Regions from separate parts of the Homo sapiens genome. Here region 1 is linked to region 2. Evidence: promoter capture Hi-C in human tissues and cell types (Jung and others, 2019). All regions are on one chromosome and are shown on one strand. The core of a region is centred on a gene start or on the middle of the fragment in contact, and the rest is flanking DNA. Distances in the headings are between cores, read along the strand shown.

Region 1 (3,076 bases), core at 87-2,586, 240 kb before region 2:
ATTGTGAATTGTTTTTAAACCTAAGTTCAAATTTTCCCAATCTGACTTCTCAATGGAACATTGTTTAGAATTATTTTCCTTTTTGTTATGAAGGAAAACAAGTCTAGTTAATACAAATTAAATTCTTTGAGTGCCTTTTTTATTTAAAAAAGATTTAAATATAGTTCTTCTCATAACAAAGAAGAAATATTTTCATGGTTGTTAGGAAATAAATACCAGTAATGAGTAGAAAACTTACTCCATTTTGAAGTAAACTCAGACTGCAGATGGGCAGGCAGTGGAAGGGCTTCAGGAAAAATCTGATAGCCTTGCATCTTCAATAAATTAAGTAGTTTCTGGCCCCAGTTCCATTCCAAGTAATGCTGTGGGTAAGCTTTGCTATTTTTATGTTCTTGTGCTAACATGTTCAGGTTACTACAATAACATTGCTTTTTTGTGTTGACTAAATTTTTTGAGCACTTATGCCCATGCAACGTCATTTGGTGGTAACTGAAATACGATACATTGATTTTTAATTTCTAAAGCTCTTCTAGATAAAGGCAGCAACATCGATCTTCAAAAGATGTTTTAAACTAGAGGTTAGGCCGGGCGCGGTGGCTCACGCCTGTAATCCCAGCACTTTGGGAGGCCGAGGCGGGCGTATCACAAGGGCTGGAGATCGAGACCATCCTGGCTAACACAGTGAAACCCCGTCTCTACTAAAAATACAAAAAATTAGCTGGGAGTAGTGGCGGACGCCTGTAGTCCTAGCTACTCGGGAGACTGAGGCAGGAGAATGGCGTGAACCCGGGAGGCGGAGCTTGCAGTGAGCCGAGATCGCGCCACTGCACTCCAGCCTCGGCGACAGAGACAGACTCCGTCTCAAAAATAATAGTAATAGTAATAAATAAATAAATAAAGTAGAGGTTAGATGACAGGATGTTTGTTTAATTGTAAAAATTATTGTTATTTATTTTTAGTACACCTGCAAAAGCATTGAGTTTTCTAAATAAGTGTTTCATGATAAACTCTTAAAAGATTTCCTCTTTTCTCCCCAGAAAAATAATTCAGAAAAATACCGTGAGAGAGCAGTTTCCACATTTCTTTTCACAGTAAGCAATCTTAATGGCTTCTTCTACATATGGGAAAGTTAGGAAGGAAAAAGGCAAACCAAGATGATATACAAGACGGCCACATCTAAGAAAAAGGACAAATACAATGTCACTATAATATTTTCTGTATCACGATCCTACTCAAATACAGTCTGGGATAGGTATTATAGGTTTAATGGTCATAACTAAGACCCTTTCACGCCTTTACTAAATTTCTTTGGATGAGAGCTACAAATGAGCTCCCAGGTACTGCACACCAGGTCAGGTCATAGCAACACTATAATTAGTCTAATACTAGTATTTTGAAATGTTATAGATATGTCACTATATAATATCAAAAATGTCATCACTGTGACTTGGTAAAATACAATTTTGTGACTGACTTATAAATTCTACCAGTGCCCAAACCGCTAACTTATAAATTAGGCTCTGAAAATCACTTGAGCTTGTCATAACTGCTAAGGCAGCACAAATTTGACACAACAAGAAATCATCACATAACAAAAACATCTCCAAGCCTTGGCCAGTAGCCCATTTATTTAAAAATGTATCTAATGCAATGAAAATTTCAGCACAATGAAAGTATTAGAACATGTGGCATTGTCAGAAATGGTGGGGTTAAAATGTTCTTCTTGCCTACATTTTACCTAGTATATATGGTTTTATGTGACTATCAAAGGGTTATACTTTTAGGTTATCCTAAAAATTAGAAGTTTAAAGGCCTAAAAGAATGAAATGTGAATTTTTAAAAATTTAGTGTAAGACCAAGTAGGGCTCACCAGACTCCGGAGAGTCAAAAAAAACAAAGCACCAACTAAGAATGTTTATAATGGCATAATGCATGAATTGAGATTCCCTCAAAATATAAATGTTTTATTTGTTCATAGAATCAAAAGTAGATTTGTGCAGATCATGCTTAAATGATTAACTCACTTTACAGTTCAGAAATTCAGGTATGTAGCCTTAAAATTATTATTTAGATTAAAATTAATTAGAAGATATGGTTATTCATTTGCAAAAGAATTAGGTTAGAATTGTACAGGATATACAAATTGGTCATTCTTTTTATTTAACCGAAATGCCAATTTATGGGGATAATCAATTTTCTGTATTTTCCTCTTGGAATGGTGAACTCTTTTACATGCCTTACTTTTTAAAAAGTCATTTCAAAAATCAAAGTCATTTCAAAAAAATAAATGTGAATAAAGAGTTTATAAACTATTTGGCAATAATCAAAAGCAAATATATTATTTTAAATCACTTACTATTAAATACAAAACAAGAAGAAATCAAGTGAAGAGATTAGTGGAAAAATCTAGAGGAGTGGTCACCAGGAAGTAACTTGAGATAATAATTACGGATATGAGATAAATATACTCAGGATTAAGAACCCATAGAATTTGATTACTGACTGAGGTGGGAAGTGTGGTGGAAGGAGTAAGTAATACATTCCTGTCACACAGTTTTGTGAAGGGGTGGATGGCAGCAAGGCTGCCATACCTGATGGTTTTTGTGATGTCCTGCAAAATAGTGGATGATGACTGGGAGTGCAGGGTCTGAAAATTATAGGATTATATGCCCTAGTGGTTGGCTGCATCTGCCTCCAATAGGTTGTATATAAAAATCACACAAAAGTGAAAGTATAAGCATGTTTTAGGAGAAGATAATCAATACAGATTTGAATAATTAAATTTAAGATGTTTGTGAATATGTCTAGGAAGTAGACTCGTCTGGAGTTCAGTCATTGTGTTTCAGCTTTGTATATATGGGATCATCCTAATATGTGTTTTAATTGTAATCAAGGGATAGATGAGATTGCTCAGGTAAAATGTGCAGAGTGTGAATAGGCAGAAAGCTGTATAGCCCTGAATAACACAAACACATACAGAATAAACCAAGGAAGAATGTGGGAGGAAGAAAAATCAGGAGGTGGAAGAGGAGGAAGTGTGGAGGAGGAGAAAGAAGAGGAAGGATATGAGGAAAAC
Region 2 (2,806 bases), core at 116-2,615:
ATCGTGAATAAAATTCCTGAGTGTAAAACAATGAATCGATATACTGAAAAAAAGAAAGACCGCTGTTAAAAATAAAATTAACAATTAAAATTAAAAAGACGTTATAATAACGTAAAAGACATGATATAAAATTAAATGTAAACAAACAATACATTTAAAAAGCAATAATTAGAAAAATAGTAGGAATAAGATTTTAAAATACAATGGAAAAAAACAAATTTTAAATTTGCCAAAAACTCTAAGAATTCTACAATCGTAAAATAGATTTCTCAAAGTGAAAACAGATACGAATGAAATATTTAATGAAATAAATACAAATATTTAAAATACAAGGAAACTGAAAGTAATAAGCGACGCGAAACAAGAAAGAAACATAAGGGAAAAAGAGAATTTAAAAACTGACAACCAGCAATGAAAGCACATCTTAATGTATTTTTATTTTCTAGGTGGAGACGTTTGGTAACTGAGAATCTTTTCAAGGAGGAGAATCCAAAAAGCCTTCTGCTGCTATCTAAGGCTGCTTAGCTCCACAGATCCGTGAACAGCACGCCCAGAGTACAGAGAACGCGGCAAAACCAACGCGAAGAATCCACTCCAGGCAGTCTGAGAAACCCGGGAGGTGGCGCCACGGCTGGAGGGCAGGAGGATGGCGGCGTTCCAAAAGGCACCCGCTGTCACAGACCTCGGTGTCCTGCTGTCTGTCCCAGGGATGGAGAGGACTGCTCCAGGGAAGCTGCTGGAGCCTGAGTCTGTCGGGTTCCTCTGCCTGCCCCACCTCTTCTACGGGTGCCTCTTGCTGCTTCTGTGTCCCCGGCCAACTGAACTCAGTGGGCTTCGCTGTACTTGGTTCCAAGGTGCTCTGGACTCCAGGAGAGAGTCCGTTTTGCCAGTAGACTCCGGGCAGCCGCCAGCAAGGGCTGGAAAGCAGTCCCAAATCACAGCTGTCCAGTGAGTACTCTCCTAGTACTGGATACAAAGGAAGAGGCCACGGCCCACGATCTTCTGAACTCACAATAGGTGGAGGCTGGGGCTCTGGCGCCACCTCTGCGGAATCCCAAGCCCGCTTCACACAGCCAAGAAAATGTTGCTCCATCCCTCAAGCCTCAGACCAACGTTTGCGCTGATCAAGGAGGGAGAGTCTCTGCACTACCATCAGCCTGAGTATTTATGCTCTGCAGAGCCCGTGGGCGGAGGCCAGTCAGATATTAAGAAACTCAGTAGTAACAAATGCACGAAAATTAGTAGACAAATGAAAAACGATAACATTTTAGAGAGTACATAGAACCAAAACGAACCGTAATTCCGACAGAAAAACATGGCGAGAAAAGAAACCGAAATGAAATGACACTAAGCAAATCTTGAAGAGAACTAGCGCTACAGAACGCAGGTATTCAAGAGCGCGCAAGGGCCAAGAACCACCCGTTTCCGGGAAATGAGCGTTGCTGCCACCGGAAAACTGTCTGCTAGGGCTCTGCCCTAACCACCTTGCAAACGAGAAACTGGCGCGTTGAACTTAGCAAGCGCCGGCACCTAGCGGATAGCGCTGGTATTGCCAAACAAATATCCGTTTTGGCGCCGTAAAGGGTGCTGCTAAAGAGAAACAGCATGCTCTTAGAACTAAGAGCGGTGCTTCCACACCTAAACAACCTGTTTGGAGGAATGAACCAACTCTGTTTCAATGTGTTGTACCAGAAAAATGTGTTGCGGCATTTAATGTGTTTTAATCCGTTCAATGTGTTTGATAGGTTTAATATGTTTTAACCCGTTTTAATGGGTTGTGACAGAAAAAGCGCCGGCTAATGGTACCACACAATTACTAGTGCGAACAGCGGCTCGGTGCAATCACCGTTCTGCACGGCAAAACGGGGTTCAGGAAGTTCCTAGGAGATACTAGCGGTTGTAGGAGCGAAAAAGTGACAGCACTGAGAACCTAAGGACCCCGCGAACGGGAAATGTCACGTTGGGTGCAGCAACTGAGAAAACGCCCAGTGGGCGCCACTGGCAAACGTGCTGATACAAAACCGCCAGCTCTGCATAGGAAGCGGAGCCTCCAGACAGAACCCGGAACCTGATACCAGCGAGGCTAAGACCGAGCTCGGCTCCCCGGCTCCTGAGAGAATGAAAGTCAAGAAGCACGAATCTGAGACGCTCAAAATTAGAAGAAAAAAAAAATACATAATTTAAAATAATGAAAGTCTGAAATGCAAGTAAAAATGAAAAACACATCGGTAACATTGTCCTCAGAGCAAGACACAAAAATAATTTTAAGGTAAGCAAAAGTTACAGAGAACCAACCCTACAAAGAAGAAATTACAAATATGGCTAAGCGATGCAATGCCTACCATTAGAATATTTCTGTCAGATCTAAACCCCTGCAGGTTGCTCCTGTCATAATTTCCTACGAGAAAAAAAACAAAAATATCCACGGTTAAACGTGTTTAGCTACGTCTAAAAAATCGTAGTAGCTGGTACATCCCGATTTGGTCTACAAGAGGAAAAAGTCTCGATGGGCAGGACTTGCTATTGTCAAAGGGAGCTTGGTAAAACTGAGACATCGCGATCGCCGGCATTTCCTGACTTCCACGGGAGTTTTAAAAACACACAAGCATAGCTAAGACAGGACTCGATATTGCGAAACCAAACTTGGTATAAGAGCTCCCAACACTGCTAAACTGGTCATCGCTAAACCTTTAAAAAAAAAAAAAAAGCATTCGCTGGTACCCAGATTTCCACAGGAGTTAAACATTTCCTGCGCAGCTAAAGCAAGTCTTACCAGTAGGAAACCGGAACTTGCTAGGACTAAGAA

Evidence for each region. The method cuts DNA at HindIII sites, captures the fragments that hold promoters and counts their contacts. A contact is called where the count stands out against the background at its distance.
Region 1: a contact is called between a fragment that was not itself captured here and the fragment with the promoter of ANXA2R in region 2, in 1 of the 25 tissues and cell types used here (stomach).

What each region holds. Positions count from the first base shown.
Region 1 is chr5:42,803,598-42,806,673 of GRCh38, forward strand. It overlaps SELENOP (selenoprotein P), which reads right to left. Exons shown (of 5, transcript NM_005410.4): 4 at 1,059-1,176. Among named protein-coding and RNA genes, the nearest start is that of SELENOP, 6.8 kb to the right of the region's middle. RefSeq lists enhancers at 135-635, 636-1,136. The HindIII fragment of the contact is 6,382 bases long and covers 1-3,076 here.
Region 2 is chr5:43,038,954-43,041,759 of GRCh38, forward strand. It overlaps ANXA2R (annexin A2 receptor), which reads right to left and starts at 1,366. Exons shown (of 1, transcript NM_001014279.3): 1 at 418-1,366. The coding sequence starts at 1,093. The coding sequence ends at 512. The region is part of intron 2 of ANXA2R-OT1 (ANXA2R overlapping transcript 1); the gene reads right to left. RefSeq lists enhancers at 248-788, 480-529, 550-959, 970-1,019, 2,675-2,754 and a silencer at 1,360-1,629. The HindIII fragment of the contact is 17,645 bases long and covers 1-2,806 here.